Regions from separate parts of the Homo sapiens genome. Here all the other regions are linked to region 1. The links are contacts of gene promoters, found by promoter capture Hi-C in blood cells and fetal thymus (Javierre and others, 2016). All regions are on one chromosome and are shown on one strand. Each heading gives the region's core, a stretch centred on a gene start or on the middle of the fragment in contact. The rest is flanking DNA. Distances are from core to core; before and after follow the strand shown.

Evidence for each region. Contacts are between HindIII fragments. The CHiCAGO score rates a contact against its expected background, and 5 or more counts as called.
Region 2: a contact is called between a fragment that was not itself captured here and the fragment with the promoter of ATP13A5 in region 1, in 1 of 17 cell types (naive B cells). The highest score is 5.0, in naive B cells.
Region 3: a fragment that was not itself captured here is called in contact with the fragment with the promoter of ATP13A5 in region 1 in 1 of 17 cell types (M1 macrophages); the score reaches 5.2 in M1 macrophages.
Region 4: a contact is called between a fragment that was not itself captured here and the fragment with the promoter of ATP13A5 in region 1, in 1 of 17 cell types (M1 macrophages). The highest score is 8.0, in M1 macrophages.

What each region holds. Positions count from the first base shown.
Region 1 is chr3:193,377,453-193,380,042 of GRCh38, reverse strand. It overlaps ATP13A5 (ATPase 13A5), which reads left to right and starts at 1,290. Exons shown (of 30, transcript NM_198505.4): 1 at 1,290-1,380. The coding sequence starts at 1,318. The HindIII fragment of the contact is 6,128 bases long and covers 1-2,590 here.
Region 2 is chr3:192,453,159-192,455,748 of GRCh38, reverse strand. All of the region lies in intron 2 of FGF12 (fibroblast growth factor 12), which reads left to right. Among named protein-coding and RNA genes, the nearest start is that of FGF12-AS2, 61 kb to the left of the region's middle. The HindIII fragment of the contact is 7,026 bases long and covers 1-2,590 here.
Region 3 is chr3:192,654,145-192,656,734 of GRCh38, reverse strand. The region is part of intron 2 of FGF12 (fibroblast growth factor 12); the gene reads left to right. Among named protein-coding and RNA genes, the nearest start is that of FGF12, 72 kb to the left of the region's middle. The HindIII fragment of the contact is 2,815 bases long and covers 1-2,590 here.
Region 4 is chr3:192,777,040-192,779,629 of GRCh38, reverse strand. No RefSeq gene overlaps it. Among named protein-coding and RNA genes, the nearest start is that of FGF12, 51 kb to the right of the region's middle. The HindIII fragment of the contact is 956 bases long and covers 809-1,764 here.

The sequences.
Region 1 (2,590 bases), core at 41-2,540:
TTTTACTAAAATCCAGAACTCCTTTCTTCAAATATGCATTTTACCTTAGATTGGTACTACTTACAAGGCAACATTCACACCGGCACATTATACTTCAGTATGGGTACCTCGGGAGCCTCTGGCATGAAGAGCTCTAGTTGTCTTCCTGTTTATTCTCATCAGCCACTTTCTCCTGGCCAGAGAGCACGTTGATCTCTCCTGAACACCAAGTTGGACACTTATGCCTGCTCAAGGCAATCAGTGTCTATTTCAGTCAGCAGAAACAGCCAAGTATCATCCCTAATAGTTTTCATTCCCAGCAAATTTTCTTCCATAGTCAAAGTGCAAGGATACAATAAGAGCCAATAAAATGACAAAAGTTTTCATCACAAACAAATTAACTGACTCTGGAATGGATCACAGTATACCTATTTTCTAATCAAAATATCAAATTCAGTGGTGTTGAAATTTGGGCTATATCCTTAATCCTCGGACTTTCTAGCATCTCTTCCCTCCACATACTTTGCTCATTTGAAAACTTTTGTAAACTCTAAAGAGAAAATGAAAAGAATCAAGTTATTAATATAGTTTACTTTTTAAAGCCTCTTTCTTCTTGGTTAGTGTAATGATTATGATGATGATTATTTCTCTCTTAGTGACTGTGGTGGGTGCTATCGTTGGCTTTTTATGACTATCATCTTAAATCTTTATATTACTGTATAGTTATTATTGACATTTTATGTACTAGAAACTGAAATTCCAGATTTTAAGTGATTTGTCCAGGGTCTTCAGTGAAGCACGGATTAGAACTCAGATTTTTCTAATTCCAAAATGATTCCTACATTCTCTATCATGAGCCTACCTCCCTTCCTTCAATTCTCATTGTCACCCCCAATATGTTCATTACTTTTTCAAAGTCTGCAGGGTTTTTATACATCTCTCACTGGCTAATCCTTTTATCTTAGGTTTTTAGCAAAGTGACTATTCTCATTCCTTGGCTGAGACATTTATGGATCGCATACAAAATGATTTCTCCTTCTAGTTTGCCAACTTCTTCCCCCGTCATTCCTCAGGTCTTGAGGCACTCATATCTAGCTCAATAAACAAACACTAGGAAAAAAACCCACAATAACCAGATTAACAGACCAATCCTGTTCCTGAGAAGATTTTCTCTCTTTCCTTTGTTAGTCTAATAGGCAAGGTGTGTACTAAGAGATTTTAAAAGCGCCTGGGAAGAGCAATCACAAGTTGTGACGATTCCAAGTTCACAGAAGCCCAAGGGATTTTGACATTTCTCCAAGGAGTTAGCCAGAAGAGATCCTCGCCGGTTGAGTTCAGATGGAAGAGAACAGTAAGAAGGACCATCGGGCTTTGCTCAACCAGGGAGAGGAGGATGAACTGGTGAGTCTTCCCTTTATTTTATTAGTCTTCTCAAAGAGCCCAAGGCGGTGAGTATGGGCTACAGCTGAATTAGAAAATAGAGTGTAGCATTTATGCTTCAGGCTTTAGGACCTTGAAAGGTTTCAGTCTGGTAAGGTTCCTTAAGGGCTGCAAAGCACCATTTTATTGTGGGGAAACCTGCAGGGGCTGAGAAACTTGTGACCTCTGGATGATAGAATTCTTGCCATCTTCATATGAACCTGTGATGTTTCCTCGCACATTTACAGTATTTGCAGAGCCCCGCATGGTGCTCAGTGGGGTGTCTCCCCCTTATTATCTGGATTGCTATGTGATGGAACAAACTCTATTGAAAACAAGAACTCTTTTTTATTCTCGTGCTTTGGGTATGTATGCATAACCTAGGCTTAGGGGGCTCTGGGCTGAAGTCATGCTTTTTATAAGCGCAGAGAGAAGTTTTAAGCATCAATTACTAAAGAAGGAGTAGAATGTGGCCTGGGATTTTTAACACATATTTTAAACATTTCTCATGTCTCCAATTTTTTCCCCACTCTTGTTTTCATCAAACACACACACACACACACACACACATTTAAAAATAATAATTAAAAAGTTGAAAACTATAGTGTTTATTTGGTGCTGAGGTGTTTATATTTATGATTTTATATAATCCTCAGACCTCAGTGATGAAAGAACTAATCCTATTTAATTGAAAAGAAATCTGAGACCAGGGAGGTTAAATAACTTGCCCAAGGTCATTAGCCTGCAAGGGACAGGCTGGGAATCCAGCCGACTCCTTCTCCACATCCTGTGCTGTTCACCATACAACAGTGGCTCCAGCTAGACAATGAAGAAAGGAGACAGAGACAGACAGGGGAAGGGTCAGAGTGAGGGCACATTTGGGGGCCCCAAAGAACTTGGAGAACATGGTTTGTAGATTAGAATGATGTCAGTTTCCTGGCTGGCATCCTGGTTCCCTGTGAGATCTGGGGCAAATCCATACCGGCTCTCCCTCCACCTATCCCTGTTTGCTACTCTAAGGAAAACATATGATTTCATCTACATCTATGTTGTTCAATAAGGCAGCCATGGGCCACGTGTAGTTTCTGAGCACTAGAAAAGTAGCTAGTCCACACAAAATATGCTTTATGTGTAAAATACGCACCAGATTTTGAAGAATTTAGTAAAAAAAAGTAAAACATCTTATTAATAA
Region 2 (2,590 bases), core at 24-2,523, 920 kb after region 1:
AGAAACTTAAAGCCATCTAAATATGCAGAAGCATGGTAAAGACTAAGTGCATTAGAGCAAATCATTGGAATATTATTCAGTTATTGATAATGTTATAAAAAGTTTATAACAACACGTATGTTTATATTTAGCATATAATGTTAAATAAAAAAGTTATAAAATGTTATCATTGCATCTAATCCCATAAACACAATAAACTGTGTAGAGATTAAAGAGATCCTGTGTGCAGAAGGGGCCAGCCCTGACCATCTCTCTGTCTAAATATATGATGTTATCATTTCTATTCTGCTGTAGGTACACCATGTTGATGCAGAGTTTCCTTGCAACTATTTCTCTTCCCAGAATTCCACATAAGATTTGGGTCCAAAGGCTTCTGTACTCTCAGTTTCTTCCTGATCAAGAGTTTCAATCTTCTTGTCATCACCCCATCTGAGTTGAGAACTAGAGTGACAGAGTCATCAGAAACCTAAGAGGCTCAGAGAGCTTTTGATCCTCTTCTTGTCCCCTCTCCGAAACAGTATTTCTCCTCCAAAGAGTTTCTATGTCTGCATTTTATGTGGTGGAAACTTTCTGTACATCATATTATTCTTCTTTCCAACTCTATAGGCTTTTAATTTTAGGAAGTAATTGCCCACTCTTTTCCAAGCAATAAGTCTTATGGCTTAGCTTTGATGTTAGAAGTTCAGTAAAAGTAAATTTCTCACCAGTAAGAGAAAATACATTGAGAATTGGGGGAGTTTTTTAAAAAAGTATTCTCCCCATTTGAAATTAATAATTAAAATAATTATTAGAGAAAGTGGAAATATTGTAAAAACTGAGATGTCCAAGCCCACAGACATCCAGAATAGATGTTGAGCCTTGTAATGTCCGTCTTATTGTTGAGCTCACAATTGATTGTCTGGTTATGTACCAGACATCTTCTGAATGTGTCACCTGGCCTGTTCTCTAGTGTGACACCTTTTTCTCCTCAGATCTGTAGTAATTAACAATCAGTATCATTTTAAATTTTTGGTGAAATTATCGCTAATGGTTTTGTGTCCTTTGTCATTTTCTAAAACTTTCTTTGCCGTGTGAAAAGGGCTGGAACTATGTAGTCTGAGAAGTATGCCTTTGACACCTTGCTGTGTTTCTCTCCTTGCACCATGTTTATCAGACTACAAGGTTTAAGCCCTTTTTAGGTTTATGAAGTAAGCCTTTTATTCCTGAATTTTTTTTTCTCCTTGTACTTTTCAATTATTTTTCCTTATTTTAGAAGTATCTCTCTTTTTGAGTGCATAACATTTCTAGACTGTATTTGTACCAGACACTCCCCATGTTCATTTTATTCTGCTGACGAAACAGGAAAATCTTTGTGTTTTTGATAAGGACTGTGGAAATAGAACATGCAGGCCTTTCTTGTTAAGAGAGATGTAGGCTGGCGCAGTGGCTCATGCCTGAAATCCCAGCACTTTGGGAGGCCGAGGTGGGTGGATCACGAGGTCAGGAGATTGAGACCATTCTGGCTAACACGGTGAGACCCCATCTCTACTAAAATACAAAAAAATTAACCAGGCATGGTGGCACGCACCTATAGTCCCAGCTACTCAGGAGGCTGAGGCAGGAGAATCGCTTGAACCTGGGAGGTGGAGGCTGCAGTGAGCCAAGATTGCGTCACTGCACTGCAGCCTGGGCGACAGAGCTAGACTCCATCTCAAAAAACAAAACAAAAAAAAAAGGAGAGAAATGTAGATATACATCTTTAACTTTTTGCCAAATTTTGATTAGAAAGGAAATAATAGACCAAAAGTATTGCATGGAGAGAAAGAAATATCTTTGGTCCTAAATATGTATTATTTACATAGATATTATACTTATTAAAAATACTTCAAGTTTATAGAGAAATAAAGTTTAAACCCAGATTAGTTAAATTTGATTTAAACAAATGGATTTTGCTAACTAACTGATCAAGGCAAAGATCAATATGAGCGTGAAATTGGGAGACTAATCCCATGGGTCTTCATGCTAGGAGAGCTGAGCCCAAGCCAAGCAAGAGACATCCCCTCATCCCCCAATAAAACAAGCAAAAGTGATCACAGATCAGTACTAAATCCTGACAAAAAAAATGCAAATATTCTCTGAAGGAAAGCAAACATAGTTAATCATTTTCTAATAATACCTTAAAGAATTAAAGTGTTTTTACTTCCATTTTGGAATTCAGTTCCCTAGGAGACAAATAGATCCTCAGAATGTAAAGATATTAGATAGAATCAGATATGACCTTGAAGTTAAATGTGACCAAACTCTCCAAATTTTTTTTTTAAAAAGGGGGGGGCATTCTTAATGACCCTTCAAGAACCAAGAACTTCATATATTAGAATGGTCAGTTTCAGAATAATACAGAGCTATGTATAAAATATTTTAAAAGTAAAATTTATAAGTTTAGATATAGAAGGAACAAAAGATTTTCAAATGTGATCAAATTAGTTTCCCAAAAGAATCAAATACAACTTTTAAAAGTGAAAGATATAATTGAAATTAAAAACCCAATAGATGGTTTGGAAGTATATCAGACACAGCTAAAAGAAAGAATAAATGAAAAGGGAGACATATA
Region 3 (2,590 bases), core at 45-2,544, 720 kb after region 1:
TATTACATGAACTAAAAGACTGTCAACATTGGAGAGAGTATGCCATAATCTTGAAGTAGCTGGCATTGTTACTGGATATGTATGGCTTAAGTCTTTGGTTTGGAGGTGGGAGGCTGTCCTGTGCATTGCAGGATGGTTGGTTAACAGCATCCCTGGCCTCTACCCACTGGATGCCAGTAGCACCCCTCCTCCCACCCCAGTTATAACAATCAGAGATATAGGCATTGCTCAATGTCCCTGGGGGCCAGATCACCCCGGCTGAGAACCACTGCACTAGAGAAACAAATGTGTAAATATGGAGCATGAAGTTTTAAATAGTGGTCACAAGTGAATGCTGAGTGTGTTTAAATTCTCATTCCTTTTGTGCTATGAGGCTTTGACTACATGTATCTGCTTTACTATAATTCTCTCTCTGTGTGTGTGTGTGTGTGTGTGTGTGTGTGTGTGTGTGTGTCTTTTCACCTTATAATTTAGGTGTTGTTTAGTGACAGTTAAAGGATACTAAGAAAGGATTGGGATGAAACAGTGTGTTTTATCCAGTATTTTGAGAGTAAGGCTTCCCAGGTGAGCTTCCGTCACTGATTTTTTGGATGGCTGTACATTAATTAACATACATTTATTGAGTGCATACCCTTCTAAAAAGTCCTGTGCTAGGTACTGCAAGGAAAAGAATTTTTTTTTTTTTTTTTTTTTTGCCTGAACCTCCTGGATGAGGGAATTTCTTTTCTGGCATGTAACGTTTCTTTTCTCGGCCCATGTGTCTGGAGTGCTAGTTATTCTTCCCCTCCAGTCCCAAACAGCTTCTTTTCCTATGGCTTCACTGACCTTTCGCTCTAAAATCCTCATGCTTGTGTTCACCTCTTCCCATTCCCCCATCTCTATTGCATCATTATGCGGGTTTGCAAACATCATCATCTTCTTTCTGGCATGACTCAGACTCCTGATAACGTTCATTTCTGGTTGCCTTATTTAGGGAAAATCATCTTCTTCTTCTAGGCCATATTAGCATGGGACACTCGTCCATCTATTACTCAGTAGCTCTTTAATTTCAAAATATAGTCCTAATCAAAATTTTCTAGCTCTTTATTTTACTTATATTTTGGGGGACTCATCAGTTATGATTAAATGGGTCAACTAGTAACAGAAATCTAAGTAATACTTGTAAACTAAATAGAATTAATTTTCCCTTGATGTAGAAGTCAAGAGGCTGGTATGGTGATGTTGTGATTTCATCAGCCTCTCAGTTTTTCTCAATCCTTCTATTCTGCGTTCCTATTCTGTAGCTTCCATCCTCAAGGTCAAGTCATGGTCTAAAGATGTCTGTCTGTCTATTGCAGCTCCAACCATCACATCTGAGTTTTAGAAATAGAGATGTAGAAAAAAAGAAAGGCCTGTCAATGGAATGCTTTCTGCTTCTCTGAAGTCCCTCTTAAAATTGTTTAAATTTTAACACCTATCTACAAGGGTGGCTAGGATATGTAGCTGGGCACATTGTTGCTATCAACAATACAGAGATTGTGTTAATAAGGAGGAAGTGAGAATAGATATTGGCCAGGCAGCAGATGTCTCTGCACACAGAGAATTTTGAGTGGAATTTATGTCATCGATGTTTTATACACCATATACAAAATAGGACTTTAAGAAGATGTTTCATAATCTATACAGCAAAATTTACTATATTAATATTGAGTTATTACTCCTAAAATTTGTTCCTTGTGCTCAAATACAGAATTGGAAGGATTCTTTATCATTGCTCCAAGGAATGAGGGGGAAAACTGTCACATTCCTCTGAAAAGTAAAAAATGTGGTCCATCAATCTAGTTGACTATTTTTTTTTTCACACTGATCTGTCAGAAGTGGCTGATTAGCTGTGGGTTTCTATACATAGCTAGCATTTATCAGAGAAATATCATGAGGACACTCTTTCTGTTGAATATACGAAAACCATAACCAGTTTCTACATGTAAGGGAAGGAGTGGTACACAGGTCTGTCAAACTGTGATGCAGGGTGGTGTGGGGAAAGGAACGGACTACGTTCAAGAAGCCTCTCTTCTGCTTCACGTTGAACATTTCTGACTCTGTCACTTTTCCTCAATCACTGTAAGCCTCTGCTTTTCATCTATAAAATGGGACTAATCCTTAACTCGGCTATCATTTGTTGTGTCCCTTCTTAAAGATACATTGAATGCCCATCTGTGGCAAGATACCAGAGTAGGACAGAGCTATTGTTATGCTTAAATAAAATATCTTGTAGAAAATCATATGTAAATTCAAAGTGCTATTGGGTTGCTGATATGGAGATTATTTATTTTTTTTATCATTTAGATCCAGATCAGATTTTAGCCATTCTTGGCAACAGATAAACTCTATTTCTCAAAAATTTCTAGTAGCAATCAATTATCTCAAAAAAATTCTGCTGTCCTGTGTGACACTGCAACTATGTATTACCCATTAATGCTAATTAGGAAGGACCTGGGAAGCACAGCCAGATAACCTATAGTTTATTCCCAGCCCTCCTACTTGGCCTCCAAACTTCCACAAAACACTAGCTTCCTTTGTGCCTACTTCCAAGCCTAAAATTCTTAAGTAA
Region 4 (2,590 bases), core at 37-2,536, 600 kb after region 1:
ACATACAAATGTAAATATGCAGCTTCACGTTAACAAATTTTTGTAAATGTGAACACCCATTTAACCACCACTGAGGTCAAGAAACAGAACTTATCCAGCACCCTCAGCCCATCTATGCTTCTTCCCAATTCCAACCTTCTTTTCCCCTAATAAATATAACTGTGTCCAATTTTATGATAATCTCTTCTTTTTCTTTTCTTTATGTTTTTTCTGTAGCCCTCTGCATTTTTAGGTGATTAGTTTGACTGTGTTTTAACATTTTGTATAAATGGAATCATTTTTTCATGTTTGGTTTCTCTCACTCAATTTTATGTTTGTGAGATTCACCTATGGTGTTTCAGGAAGCAGTAGTTTGTTAACTTCCAATGCTGTCTGATATTCCACTATATAAACATGCCACTATTTATTTAACTATTTGCTGTTGATGGATATTTAACTCGTCCCCAGTATTTACTTATTAATAATACTATTGTGGATATTTTCATCCATGTCTCCTAGTACTCATACCTTCAAACCTTTTGGACATAAAACCAAAGTAGATTGTTACTTAAAAATGTTTCAAATATTTTCTCCCACTCTGTGACTTGCCTTTTCATTCTCTTTCATATTAAAATGAAATTAAGACCTCTGCTTATGTTTTGAAAAGCAGAGGTCTTAATTTTGTTTTAATATAAAGTATATCAATCTTTTCACACTGTTTATGTATCCCAGAACTTAAAGTAAAATAAAATAAATAAATAACAAATTAAAGAAATTTCTTCCTAACTTGATAGTTGAAGTCATTCTTCTATATTATCTTTTAAAAGCTTTATGATTTTTCTAATTCGAATTTATGTCTACAATCCATCTGGGGACATTAGGGTTGTTTCCAGCTTTGGGCTATTTTTGGCAGTATTTTATGGTTAGGAAGAATGCTGACATGCACATTTCGCACACTTTTTTGTTAGACATATGCAGTTGTTCCTTTTAGGTATATACCTAGAAATAGAATTTTTGACTCGGAGGATAGTAGATCATTCCAGGTATCTAAAGTGTTGTATCACTTTATACTTCCACCATGAATGTATGAGATTTCCAGTTGTCTCACATTCTTACCAACACATTGTGTTGATAGTTTTTTTTTTTTTTTTCTAATTTGTAGTCACTTTGGTGGGTACATACAGGTGTTTCATTATAGTTTTAAATTGCATTTTCTTTTTTTTTTGAAATGGAGTCTCACTCTGTCACCAGGCTGGTGTGCAGTGGTGCCATCTCAGCTCACTGCAATCTCCACCTACTGGGTTCAAGCGATTCTCCTGCCTCAGCCTCCTGAGTAGCTGGGACTACTCAGTCCTGAGACTGCTACTACATGGTGCACACCACCACGCCCAGCTCATTTTTGTATTTTTAGTAGAGATGGGATTTCAGCATGTTGGCCAGAATGGTCTCTATGTCTTGACCTCATGATCCACCTGCCTTGGCCTCCCAAAATGCTTGGATTACAGGCGTGAGCCACCACACCCGGTCTTAATTTGCATTTTCTAATAACCAATGGTGTTTAATAGATTGTCTTACACTTACTGGATATTTTTATATCTTTGTTGGTAAATTGCCTGTTCAAGTTATTGCCCATTTTTGAAATTGTGTTATTTTGTCTTTCTTTATTAATATGTAATTGTTCTCTATATATTTCGGAAACAAGTCCTTTATCTAAAATGTATTTTAAACATCTTTCTCTGCCTATTCTTTCTATCCTCTTAATGATGTATTTGATGAACAGAAGCTTTTAAAGTCCATAAGTTCTCGGCCAGACACAGTGGCTCATGCCTGTAATCTCAGCACTTTGGGAGGCCAAGGCGGCGGATCATGAGGTCAGGAGATCAAGACCATCCTGGCTAACACAGTGAAACCCCATCTCTTCTAAAAACACAAAAAGTTAGCCAGGTGTGGTGGCAGGTGCCTGTAGTCCCAGCTACTCAGGAGGCAAGCTAGTTACTTCCTAGATCAAAAGCAAGCTAGTTACTTCCTAGATACAATGGGGGTAGGAGAATGGCGTGCATTCGGGAGGTGGAGCTTGCAGTAAGCCGAGATCGTGCCACTGCACTCCAGCCTGGGCGACAGAGCGAGACTCCATCTCAAAAAAAAAAAAAAAAGGCCACAAGTTCTCTCGTCTTTTATGATAATTGTTACTTGTGTTCTGTTAAAATTTCTTTACCTGACAAATATGTCTTGAAATTATTCTCGTTTGTTTTTTCTAAAAGCTTTATTGTTTTACCTTTTACTATTTAGATTTATAATCTATCTTAAGTTAAATTTTTATTATAATCTACCTTAAATTAAATTTTTGTATGATGTGAGGTTTGGGATTAAGGTTGTTTTTCTTTTCTATATGGATGTCCAATTGACCTAGTACAATTTATTAAAAGATCATCTTATCCTCTCTGAATTGCTGAGGTACCTTTGTTAAAAACTAAATGACCACACACAAACATACACACAAACACACACACTCATGAACACTTTATTGTGTTTTATGTTTAATGTCTCTCTGCTTATGTCAATGCCACACTTTTAATTACTGTGTCTTTAAAGTCCTGAACTCTAGGGGTGT